2 separate regions of the Homo sapiens genome follow, and region 1 is linked to region 2. The links are contacts of gene promoters, found by promoter capture Hi-C in human tissues and cell types (Jung and others, 2019). All regions are on one chromosome and are shown on one strand. The core of a region is centred on a gene start or on the middle of the fragment in contact, and the rest is flanking DNA. Distances in the headings are between cores, read along the strand shown.

The links. Contacts are between HindIII fragments. The study calls those that stand out against the background at their distance.
Region 1: a fragment that was not itself captured here is called in contact with the fragment with the promoter of TRAPPC9 in region 2 in 1 of the 25 tissues and cell types used here (hippocampus).

What each region holds. Positions count from the first base shown.
Region 1 is chr8:140,519,431-140,522,890 of GRCh38, forward strand. AGO2 (argonaute RISC catalytic component 2) reads right to left here. Exons shown (of 19, transcript NM_012154.5): 19 at 726-3,460. Among named protein-coding and RNA genes, the nearest start is that of CHRAC1, 9.8 kb to the left of the region's middle. The HindIII fragment of the contact is 4,793 bases long and covers 1-3,460 here.
Region 2 is chr8:140,456,377-140,459,831 of GRCh38, forward strand. TRAPPC9 (trafficking protein particle complex subunit 9) reads right to left here and starts at 1,368. Exons shown (of 23, transcript NM_001160372.4): 1 at 1,263-1,368. RefSeq lists silencers at 913-962, 1,073-1,462, 1,553-1,792, 1,913-2,222 and an enhancer at 1,622-2,140. The HindIII fragment of the contact is 3,662 bases long and covers 1-3,130 here.

The sequences.
Region 1 (3,460 bases), core at 403-2,902, 63 kb after region 2:
TCTCTAGTAAAATACAAAAGTTAGCCGGGCATGGTGGTGGTGCAGGCCCGTAGTCCCAGCTACTCGGGAGGCTTAGGTGGGAGAATCGCTTGAACCCAGGAGGCAGAGGTTGCAGTAAGCTGAGATTGCACCACTGTACTCCAGCCTGGGTGACAAAGTGAGACTCCATCTCAAAAAAGAAAAAAAAAAAGGAAAAGCCCCCTTTTCCTTTCCCAGCACGTCGTCATCTCAGTATAGACAGCAGAAGTCAAAAACAGCCCAGTCAGGGTGAGGCCACCAGGGATTTGAGAGTAGCCAATGTGCGTAAACCTAGCCGGGACAGAGTAGCAAAGTGGCTGGCCAGGCCGCGAACCAGGACGGTGCCAGCTCAGGTTCCCACACTCAACACGGAACTCAGGACTTTGCTTGTGACGGGCTTAGCTGAATGGCTTCTTGATCCTTTCTCATGCTGCAGGAGCAGAAAGAGCCAACTATCCGACACACCATGGCTGCTCCCACTAGTCCAACTCATGCCTGTGGTTCTCATCCCCCAAACCCAAATCCTCGGGTAATGCCCAGCTCTGCCAAGTACATTCTTCAAGGAACAGCCCTCTGTTTGTGGAACAGGGCTCTGGACTTCCATCCCTGAAGGCACGCTTCTGCCTCGGGAGCTGGAATCATAACCTGTGCAGAAGGAAGTGCCTAAAGAAGTAGGTGAGGAATTGAAGATTTTTGGAAGAGGCAGCTGTAAATAGGAGGACTTTTATTTAATTTTTTGCTGACATACTATGAGGCAAAACAAAATTGACACCATACAAAATAACTTTATAAAATATCATTCACATCATATTTTATCAGATTTACAGCATTCTGTGCATGTTAGGGGTTATGTAAGGAGGTGAAAAAACACTATGCCAAACTTTTAGTATTAGTTTATATACACACAGTAAGAAACAAAACAAGTAACTGTTAGGTTTTCCATGAATTTATTGCAAAAATAGTGCAAACTACTTCACCTAGTAAGCTGTAAAAACAAACTAGAAAGGACCCAGCTAAGCTTAAACACGACAATAGATGCTCAGTTTCTCAGCATTTAGCTTTCTTCACCAGTTTTATCTTGACAATCAAGACCACTCCCCATCTGTTCAGTTTCGGGTGAGTGCTGAGGAATAGAGAAATGTGAAGACGGGCTCTCTGGAGAGACCAGAGGCTCGGGCTGCCTGATTTCAGCAACACATTTAGGATCATGCTACTTCCTCAATCGCAATTTTTCTGAGGTCTGTGTTGGGGGAAAAAAAAAAAGGTGACATGATTTTTAACCTTGAGCTTAGAAATAAGTTATCCAACCTCTTGATGACATGGAGAAATGAATTAAGAAAGCAGCATGAACAGGAAGGATTCAGAACATTATTGTCTGCTTATAAACACAGTGTCTGCCTCCTCAGGTGTATTTGGCTAAAGTATTATTCTAATATAGGGCAACCTTCGAGCCAGATATTGCAGCAATTTTTTTAAATTTTTTTAAATTTTTATTTTTTAAGGATACTATATCCCTACAAGAGTAATTTTTAAATTTCTTTCAACAGTCTATTGGGGTCCAAAAAGCATATATCAAAACAAAAATAACAAAAGCAAAACAAAATGCTACATGTAAAAGCTAAAGAAAGAAAATGCAGCATATTCAGGTTCTTTTTCTTGAGGTACCTATATAAATTTAATCACCTGCCCCAAAGTCCTCTCGTTAGGTTAAAAACACAATGCGTCCTGGGGAGCCAATTGCCCGGCACGTCTTATTACTGAGAAAGTGCAAGAATGCTGATCATCTTATGCAGCATACTAAAGGATGATTTACTCTTTACAAAATAGAGCTTAAGTATCAACCTGATGGAAGTTAGAAAATTAAAAACATTTAAGTAGAATCATCTCTCTCTCTATTTTTGAGATCCTGCAGCAAAAAGCCTCCCAAATCAACTTTCAAAGTTCTGCCATTAAGGAATGTTGGTTCTCTTGTAAAATTCAGAGATCTCTTTAAAATAGTAAAACTATATACTACAGGAAAGATCCCTAATTTTTATTTCTTATTGGTATAAAATCAAATTCTTAAGACTCCAAAATATTGTTACCTCCAAAGAATTAAGTAAAAAAAGATCGCCATAGTAGGAAAAGTCTAGAATTGTAAACTGCCAAATATAAAAGCATGGTAAGTCATCAACCTATCTCATTTTCTTACCTGTCAGAAAGCCTTCCTAACTTACAGGCACACAGGGCCGCTGCTGAATGCAGGCCTCTGCCTCCACAAAGCCACGAGCTCTGGCTCGCCCCTTTCTGTCCATGGCCATTAGCACCTCCACCAGGTAGGTCAGGAGAGATGAAATCGACAACAGTCCGTTTGCTGCTTATGAAATAAACTCTTAGAAAATGTGCCAGAGGAAGAGGGGGCATGAATGGCTAGAAAAGCAATGATGAGGGTACTTGGGATTTTTTTTCTGGCCACCCCTTCACTGGCACAGAAAATGAAGTGATAAGCTATAAATATGTGCATAGAGGAGTTTGGACTTTATTGTTTGTAAAATGTTAAATTTGCTCTTGGACATTTTTTTTTTTCTTTTCACAGGGGGGCAGTCGGGATTATAATACACTGTAGCAGTTGGCTGGGGAAAAGTCTATCAAATTCCATGACCAATTGGACTTTTCTCCCACCTGTAATATAAATAAAATATGTACTGTTTCATACTGAATTTTTTCAATGCATTGGGGTTCAACATAAAAGGCACAAATAAATAAAAATATCATTAAATAAACGGAAATTACAATTTCAAGTTTCATGTGGAGTTGTATCTCACTGTTTGGTTACTTTTTCCAATTTAATTTGACAGACTTAGTAATAGCACCCAACTGTTTAACTGAGGTAGATCCACATTGTAAAGAAAGCTGGGTCCCCTCCATTTTATCTCTAAATTTATGATACTTTTATAAAAACAAAAATCCATTTAAATCATATGCAGAAGCGATGACAGGTGGTACTACCTGAAGAAAGCTTAGAACATGAGCAGGTTTGCAAATAAGACCTACGCCCAAATCACACTCTCCATCAGCCACACAGAAATCTCAGACTGGAGGGGAAAAAAAAAAAGAAACATGAAAAAAAAAAAAAACCCTGAAAAAGTCGCAAGACTTTTAGAACAGGTCTTTTTGACTGTCACAGAAATGCACAATGGTCCATTTTCATCAAGCTATGGCCATAGCCAAGCTAGACAAGAGAGAGAGAGAGAGACAGAGACAGAGACAGAGAGAGGGAGGGGGAGGGGGGAGAGGGGGAGAGAGAGAGAGAGAGAGAGAGGTGTATCACTGAATGCTTCCCTTTAACTCCAGAAAAAAATAACTTGAATTATGATACAGCATCTTGATCTGAACAGTTTACACTCACTCTGCCTAATATTTTTGCATACTCTGAAACTCACAAATTTAACATCTGATTAAG
Region 2 (3,455 bases), core at 118-2,617:
ACTCCAGCCCAGGCGACAGTGCGAGACTCCGTCTCAAAAAAAAAAAAAAAAGAAAAATCACTGAATTGTACACTTTAAAGCAGTGGATTTTATGGCAGGTAATCGAGGCTCAATGAAGCTGTTATTTTTGACACACTAGATTTCTGAAACATTTATTGTTTACATGTTTCCGGACAACTGTTTTTCCCTCTACACTACTAGTCCTCCACACAATTAAAAAAACGAACAAACACACACAACAAAACCTAGCCAGATCTTTAGGACGGCAATGTTCCTGGGCCTCCAACATCATCCACCCGGTGCTTTGTTTCAGGTTAACAAATAAAGATGTCATAGGTAGCTATGACTACCTTAGAAACACGGGACAGTCACCAGTTTAAACTGGGGCCGTGAGGGATGGAAGGGAAGTCACTCCCCCATACCTTTCAACTGGGCCTTGCTTCCAGCGTTTTAATTCCTCTCTCTATAGAAACATTTGAAGACAGACAACGCATCCTAACACGGGAAAACTTTCGGTTAACAGACATTCACGTTGGGAAGGTCTGCAGGGGTGGAGGGGATTGGGGTGGGCTGACAGGGAGAAGACCACAGGCCAGTAGCCTGACTTCCTCTCCCCAGGGTTCCCTGGGATAAGTTGGAGTTGACAGCGCGCTTATCCCAGAGAGCACCGCCTGATGCCGCCCAGCTAGATCGCAGGCACTTTGAATCCAGGAGACAGGAGGGAAAGGGCTAGGGGAGAAGTCCGGGAACTCAGGGCGGGGAAAGCGCCGGGGGCGTGGGCTGTGCTGGGCCCCAGGCCCCAGCCGCGCGTCCCAGACCCCGCGGGCTCCAGTGGGCTTAGCCAGGCCCAGGGGCGGGGGGCTCCAGCGCCGCGGACGGCCCGGGAGGGGAAGCCAGGCGGAGACAGCTCGGAGGCACAGAGGGGAAGGGGACCCCCGCCGCGAGCTCGGGAGAGCAGAGCCGGCCCGGGCAGCAGGTGTGGGCCGGGTCCCGGACAGGTGTCCGCCGAGTCTTCAGCGGGTGTGGGACACGGCCTTGGACAGATGTAAGCAGAGCGCCAACAGGAGCAAGGGCGCCTCGAGCAGGTGCACGCTGAACCCCGGCCCGGCAGCGGACCCGGACAGGTGTGGCGGGCTCCGCCCGGACAGGTGAGGGCCGGGCGAGCCCCTCCGCGGGACGCGCCGACTCCACGGCCAGCCGCGCAGCCCTCCCCGCAGCCGGTCCGAATTGCCTGACCGGGAGCCCCCCCGCTTTGCACTTACACAGCCGGTGGCCCCGGGCCCGGAGCGGGAGCCCACGACCTGGCGGGCAGCGGGGCCGAGCAGCCTCTGCGGCCACTTCCCAGGCTCTGGGCTGGCGCTTCCTACTGGCGGCCGAGCCGGCGCTGCTCCTGCGCGTGCGCGGAGGCCAGGCCTGGGCCCCCGATCCGTCCCGGGTTTTGCAAGAGACGCGAGGGAAGCAAGGGGGTAGGAGCGAGGGAGAAAAGAGGAAGGAGGAGCGAGGGAGAGAAGAGGGGACAGGGAGGGAGGGGACATGGGGAGGGAGGAGGAGGAGGGAGGAGGGAGAGAAAAAGGTGGGGTGAAAGAAGGAGGGAGGAGGAGCGAGGGAGAGAAGCGGGGACGGGGAGGGAGGAGGAGGAGAGTAGGAGGAGGAGGGGTGAAAGAAGGAGGGAGGGGCAGCGAGAGAGAGAAGCGGGGGACAGGGAGAGGGTGGAGGAGGGAGGAGGGAGGGAAAAAGGAGGGGTGAAAGGAGGGAGGAAGAGGAGGAGGGAAGGAGGGAGATGGAGGGAGATGGAGCGAGGAGGGAGGGAGGGACCGGAGCAAGAGAACAGAGACTAGGAGGAAAGCTTCTGCACCTGGGGCGGCGCAGCTGGAAGGAGGCCCAGTTCTGTCCCCGCCGCTTACCAGTCCTTCAGGGCGCGCAGCTCAAATTTCACTTCCTCTGTGAAGCTCAGGGGTGGAGGCCCCGCGGAAGCCCACTGTGGATCCCTGCGGCACCCCCTGTGACCCTCACGGTACCCCCCGTGACTCCCACGGTCGTGCCCCCCACGTGGGTGGGTGACCGTGGCGCGCGCGGCCTGGGAGCGCCTCCAGGATCGCAGGGCCCGGGAGGCACGTGAGGTGCGAGCCCCAGCCTGGGCCGGCTTCCCCCTGTGTGGCGCGCGGTCTTGATCCCCAGCTGGCACCATGGCACTCCCGACTTTGAGGGCCCCAACAATCCATCCACATAAAAGGTTCCAAAGAGGCGACAGGGGCTAGGACAGCTGTCGTTAGTTCAGTGCCAAGGCGCCAAGCTTGCTAAGTGCGGGCAGAAGCCATTTAAGGATTTAAACCCCTCTGGGTTCAAAAATAAAATAAAATAAAGCAGGAGATGGGGGAGGCTTACAGACTTAAGATGCCCAGCACATGAATTAACAGTGGCATCCGCAGGGAAAATTGAAAACAGAGAGCCGCTCTCCGTTATGTATGTTTAATGTTCTGTTTGAATCTTTTAACATGTACATGTATTTCTTTTTCAATTAAAAAATCCTGGCCAGGAGAAATGGCTCACACCTGTAATCCCAACACTTTGGGAGACTGAGGCGGGTGGATCACTTGAGGTTAGGAGTTCAAGACCAGCCTGGCCAACATGGTGAAACCCCGTCTCTACTAAAAATACAAAATTAGCCAGATGTGGTGGCGCGCGCCTGTAATCCCAGCTACTCAGCAGGCTGAGGCAGGAGAATCGCTTGAACCTGGAAGACAGAGGTTTCAGTGAGCCGAGATCATGCGATTGCACTCCAGCCTGGGCAACAACTGCAAAACTCTATCTCAAACAACAACAACAACAAACACTAAAAAGGGCTGGGTGTGGTGGCTCACACCTGTAATCTCAGCACTTCGGGAAGCCAAGGCGGGTGGATCACCTGAGGTCAGGAGTTCAAGATCATCCTGGGCAACATGGTGAAACTCCAGTCTCCACTAAAAATACAAAAATTAGTTGAGCGTGGTGGTACATGCCTGTAATCCCAGCTACTAGGCAGTCTGAGGCAGGAGAATCTCTTGAACCCGGGAGGCGGGGGCTGCAGTAAACCAAGATCACACCACTGCACTCCAGCCTGGGTGACAGAGAGAGCCCATCTCAAAAAAAAAAAAAAAAAAAATCCTAAAATGGAAAAGTAAAGAGGACAGGAGTGGTTTTCTCAGCACATACAGCAGCAAGGGAGAAATGGTCTGAGCCAGCATTTTTCCTTTCAGCCAGCAGGCACTTACCCGCTCTGGGCTATGTGACCAGGGCTGTTTTATTATCACATGTGTTATAAAATAAGATACTATCCCTCATCCCTGCTCAGGGCTAGTGGAAAACCAATTGAGTTTTTATTGAATTATTTTCTACAGAGTCAGAATGAGTTATAAATAAAACATATCTTCAGGGCAAAACAAATAGAGCTGATTTCCAGCCTGCCAGACAGCCAG